2 separate regions of the Homo sapiens genome follow, and region 1 is linked to region 2. Evidence: promoter capture Hi-C in 16 types of primary human blood cells and fetal thymus (Javierre and others, 2016). All regions are on one chromosome and are shown on one strand. The core of a region is centred on a gene start or on the middle of the fragment in contact, and the rest is flanking DNA. Distances in the headings are between cores, read along the strand shown.

Region 1 (2,700 bases), core at 34-2,533, 290 kb before region 2:
AGTGCTGGAATTACAGGCGTGAGCCACGACACCCAGTGAAAAACATCTTTTAAAAGACATTTATTCAACATCATGATCAGACTATGACATTTGGCAATCAACAGGATGAGTGCAAAGGAAAAAAAAAACACATTAAAACTCTTTGTTAAGACTGCTTTACACTTTCCACAGAACAGAAACTAAACTAACCTGTTATACAATTAGTCACAAATACGGTCCTTGAGTTTTTTACCCATACACCTGAGTATTGTCTAAAACATATCTTCTTTGTAGCAGCTAGGCCCTGCTACCAACTGTGCTTGGCTGAGTTCACAAATCTGTTGTAACCTGTAGTTTCCCTGTCACTTCTCTGGCTCTCCTCTCCTGCTAAGCTTTGTTTCCTGGCATTAATTAAAACCTTCTGCCACTGCCATAACTACTGCTGCTACTGGAACTGCCTGTCAACCTAAAAAGAAACTCAGAAAGACAGGCTCTTTAGAACAAACAAGTTTATCTAGGAATAGCAGAGGGATTGCAATTGCAGGGTATGCAAGCTATGACGGGCCATTAATGTATCCAGGGGAGTTGGGGAAAGGGAAAGCTTTTAAAGACAAAGAGAAATCCATGAAATAAAGCTTGAAATAAAGCTCACGGGTCACAGAAGCTCAGTGCAGGAGTTGGCGTTTATTCATTGGTGGAGATGGCTGTTGCTGAGTAACTGTCCTGGTGCTGGCAGCTTGTCTGAAATACTGCAGGCCTGAAAAATTCCTGTGATAAGCTCTGTTGCAGGGTGAGTGCAGAAGTGGGGCATGTGGGACCTGCAGGAATTTCTTGTGATAAGGTATATTATAGGCATGTGCGGTGAGAACTTTTTTAGGGCCTCCTGACTCCACTTTGTTAGGGTTTTGACATAAGTGACTCCATTCTGGTACTGGCAACTTTCACATGCCTTAGCCACCTTGATTTGATGTTTTGGCAACATAGTAGCCTCAGCCACCACAGGGGCCAGAGTTTCTTTCTTTCTTTTTTTTTTAGGTGCCAGAGTTTCTGTCTCCAAAGTTTCTTCTCTTCATGGGTTCAAAATTGATTGAAGATTGGTTGTTGTAATTACCAAAATCGTTGTAGTTCCCACCATCTCCAAAACTGCTTCCATCATTTAAGTACTAAATCCATTATAGCCATCCCTGCTGCCCCCATATCCACCAATACAGCTGCCTCCAAAGCTACCATTACCAGTGAAATTTTTCCTTGATGACCAAAGTTGTTACTCCCACCAAAACCACCTCCATGACCACCACCAAAGTTTCCAGAACCACTCTGACCTCTCTGGCTGGCTGAAGTACTAACCATTTCTTTCTTCAACATGGTTTTCCATACTTCATGGTAGTGGCTATGTACTTTACGGTATTTCTGAGAGACAATCTTATTCGCAGAGTCATGGCTGTCCTCAAAGGTTAAAAAAGTAAAGCTCTTCTTTTTGCCATTGCCTCACTCAGTCATGATTTCAACCACTCCTATTTTCTCATACCTTCACAATAATCTCTTAGGTGATGTTCTTCAGTGTCTTCTGTGATGCCACCAACAAAGATCTTTTTTACAGTTAACCAGGCACCTGGTCTTTGAGAATCTTTTCTTGACATCCCTCTTTGGTTTCACAACTCTTTCATCTGCCTTGTGTCGCCTTGATTTACGGCTGCATCCATCTCCTCCACAGTGCCATCTGTGAAAAACCAAAGGCCCTGGAATGCTTGGTGTTTGGGTCTCTCATTGCTATATAATCCATGAGCTTTCCTCACTACTCAGAATGGCTCCCCAGACTCTTATTGGTTGTTTCAAAGCTCAATCGTCTGATGAAGAGCTTCTGTAGCTATTCGGGCTATTTAAGAGACTCTGACTTAGATATGTTGGTAGTGGGAAGAAAGACTTGAACGATGCATCCTTAGTGGCATCCATGGGCAAAAGTAGTAAGCTTATGACGTATCTCTGAAATACGGTATTTTAAATTTTCATTTTACAAATGATCCGGAAATGTTCTATGTTCACAGTAGCTCTTGACAAAAGACAGTATACTAAATATAAGGCTTTTCTTTAATAGAATTGGACATATATGGAGCATATGAAAACTAGGTGAGCAGACTGTGGACTACCTACATCAGAATCACCTACAAAGGGAGGCACGTGCTTTTTTAAAATGCAGAATTCTGGGCTTCGCTCCAGCCCTACTGAATAAGATCTCTGATGCTCACTAAAATTTGAAGAGAATCATTTAAGAAGAGATTTTAGCATAGCCACCATTACCATCCTCAAATCTCTCCTGCCTCATTTAGGTTTTGAACAACTCATATCAGGGGTGTTTCTGGACAGGGCCAGGGAGCTGCAGGAGTGCACAAGCTTCTCTGTCAAAGATGTTGTGGCAACAGCATGGACAGCAGTCAGTGGAATTCGGTAAGGGCTTCTATCTCGGAGATCCCACTTTGATTCAATTCGACTTCTTGCATAATTTTACAGGCCACTATCATCTCCAAACTCTCACTCAGAAAGTTACAATAGGCAGAATCATAATTCTACCTTGTGTACTTAATAACTACTTTTCATTGACTGACACCTGCTACCAAACACTGTAACTGGCACTTTATACATGTAATTTTTAATCTTTAAAACTCCTTGTGAGAAAATGAACATTTTCTTCATTTTATTGTTAAGGAAAGTGAAGTACTAAAA
Region 2 (2,700 bases), core at 176-2,675:
GAAATGCAGGCTATCCCAAAGGGTGCAAGAGAAAATACTAAGTTATTTAACTCCTATTTAATGTATGTTTTATAATGTGCATTACAATTTGTATAGTAGTATTCATGTTTAAATTACAAATAAACCAATGTAGGGAGTAAGTGATCAAACCTCTTCTACTGATAGAAATGCAAAATAAAGAAAGTTTGGAGCTAAAGCTCTAGAGACACACTTAGAAGCCACACATACTCTTTCTTTGAATTTTTCTTCTTCAACTTTTGGCAAACTTGTCTGTCAAGACCATGAACAAAGGCAACTTTTTCTTGGTTTTCCTGATTGCCCCATCAGGAAGAGTGCTGGTAGCTTCCCTTTGTGTACCTCTCACTATAACCCTTTAACTGGTTTATGCACAACTCACCACTCTCACCCTCCAAACTGCTGCACGGCCACCAAAGGAAAGGAACCAAATGGAATCAGAAAATACTAGACCTTTTTTTACTCAATGCACCTCCCCTAGAAAGCCTTCCTGATCACGCTAGGCTTAGAGAGGTGGTTATTGTCTCAGTGATCCCAAACTACCTTTTTCATTCAAACCTCTAGTAGAGCACATCTCACACTGTAATCGTTTGTGGTTTACACGACTGTCTCCCCTGCTTTCTGGGAGGATACAAAGGGCAGAGCTGACTTCCAGTCATCTTTGTACACGTGTGCACATGGCACACATAATTGGGAAATGAATGAATATGATACATTTAGCTGACACTGAAGTGGAGGAAAACTTTGAACGTTTTAAAATCAGCACCTTACTGGTAACTAGGGCATCTGTGCTGTGCTTCCAGTTCACCAAGAGCCCAGATCCCTGTGTCTCAATCTCTTTAAAAAGACAAAGAAGGACTTTAAAATAATCTGTAAACTCTGCTCTAAGATCCCATATATGTAGAAAGTTCAGGCCATTCTCCTGCTTCCCATAGTGTTCCGAATGCTCAGCACTTTAAAATCTCAATTGGATTTTTGCATTTCCAAGTCACGCTCCACGTTTGCGATTCTGAGCCTGGGTCTGACCCAAATATGACAGTTCATACAGTTTCCTACTGCAAGAGCTGGGAAAACAGCGATCTACCTTTCGTGTTAAACCAGGCTTCAGCAGCGCCGCTCACCTGGCCACGTCTGCCCTGTTCATCGCTGTACCCGCAGATACCCGGCTCCGTGCCACGCACGAATGGTCAGGGGTATGAGACAAAGAAGCGGCTCTACATCGGGCGGCTTCTGAGAGTCACGGGGACCGCGCCGCCTGCCGCCGGGAAGAAGCGCGGTCCTGGCCAGCGTCGGCGACCCGAGCTCCGGCCGCGCCTCCCTCCGCGTCTCGGCCCACTCGCGGTGGCACTCGGCACCGAAGCCGGACACTCTACTGCCCGTTAGACCAAAAACAATGGCCGAGCCGGAAGCGAGAGAGGCCTCGACTTCCGCCCCCTCCGGGATCCCGGAAGTCTCGTTTGCGAAGGTGGGCGCGCGCGTCCCCGCACCCGGGAGAGCTGGCAGGGCTTACTTCTCGGCTGTGCCCGGCCACCTGCCGCGGGCGGGGTCGGGGTCTCGCGAGGGCCCAGGCCACTCACATCCCGCTCTCAGGCCATAGTCGGGGGATCCAGACGCGTCCCAGCTCTACACCTTCTCCTCCAGGTGTCCTTGGGAAAGATACCCAACCTCCAAGCCTGTTTTCTCATCTGAAAAAAATGCAGAGCATAATGCGTACCTCACAGGGCTGGGAGCACCGCATGAGGTTAACAGACACTACATAGCAAAAGGCCTGGCATATCCTGAGCAGTCAGTTATACCATGTGTGATGCCCAATCTGAAGTCTCAGTGAAGGGAGCAGCAAGCATCTCCCATCTTAAAAATGAAGAAGCATGTCTAGAAATTGTGATATTTTGGCCCATAAATGTGGTTAATATTTCGTAAGACAGCACCAGCATTCTGGTGTCCATGTAGAGGTTCCTAGGGAGACCAAGAAGCAGATAAACTGAGAAGGTGTGGGGACAGTTTGTAACCTAGTAGGCAGTTGTCTAGCCTCTGGGTGGCAGGTGGTACCCAGGTGACTTTCACTTTGAAGAATGGTTTGCATACAGAAGGAGGATATGAACTGGTCCTTGTTACAAACATGGTTGAGCAGGCCCTGTGTGTTAATGACCACGGGTGAAGGGCAAAGGGTGTGATGAAGTTAACTGTGTATCTTTATTATAGCACAGGAGATAGGTCCTTTACAGGGCCCAAAGTAAACAGTCTCCTGGACTGTCTAGGGATGGCAATATTTCAAAGGTGCCCTGGGCCTAACCCTGGCCCTGACATATGTTCCTCATATATCTGTGTGAGCCAAGATAGAAACAAAGACACCAGAAGTCCTGCTCCAGAGTTTCCACAAGCTTAAAAGTAATCTCTTGGAGCAATCTTTGTCCATTGATCCTAATGGTGGTTTCCTGTCATCAAGGTCCCCCTCTCCATTTGGAAATCTCACAAGGAGGTTTTGGCTATTTAAAACCAGGAACCCCAGCCTCTGCCTGACATTGATGCTAGACATTGCCTACTGGCAAATCAAGGCCTCAGAAGCTTAGGATTCTTGAGGTGGAAGGCAAATCAAGGCCCCAGAAGCTTAGGATTCTTGAGGAGGAAATCTCCCAAGGCCAGGCTAAATGCTCTCAGACCTGATTTTCAGGTCTCCTTGACCAC

What was found. The method cuts DNA at HindIII sites, captures the fragments that hold promoters and counts their contacts. A CHiCAGO score of 5 or more calls a contact.
Region 1: a fragment that was not itself captured here is called in contact with the fragment with the promoter of ZKSCAN7 in region 2 in 5 of 17 cell types (naive CD8 T cells, total CD8 T cells, endothelial precursors and 2 more); the score reaches 5.9 in naive CD8 T cells.

What each region holds. Positions count from the first base shown.
Region 1 is chr3:44,843,829-44,846,528 of GRCh38, reverse strand. The region is part of intron 30 of KIF15 (kinesin family member 15); the gene reads right to left. It also overlaps the pseudogene HNRNPA1P77. Among named protein-coding and RNA genes, the nearest start is that of MIR564, 17 kb to the left of the region's middle. The HindIII fragment of the contact is 1,334 bases long and covers 617-1,950 here.
Region 2 is chr3:44,553,918-44,556,617 of GRCh38, reverse strand. ZKSCAN7 (zinc finger with KRAB and SCAN domains 7) reads right to left here and starts at 1,425. Exons shown (of 6, transcript NM_001288590.2): 1 at 1,137-1,425. RefSeq lists silencers at 1,372-1,511, 1,622-1,671. The HindIII fragment of the contact is 2,808 bases long and covers 1-2,398 here.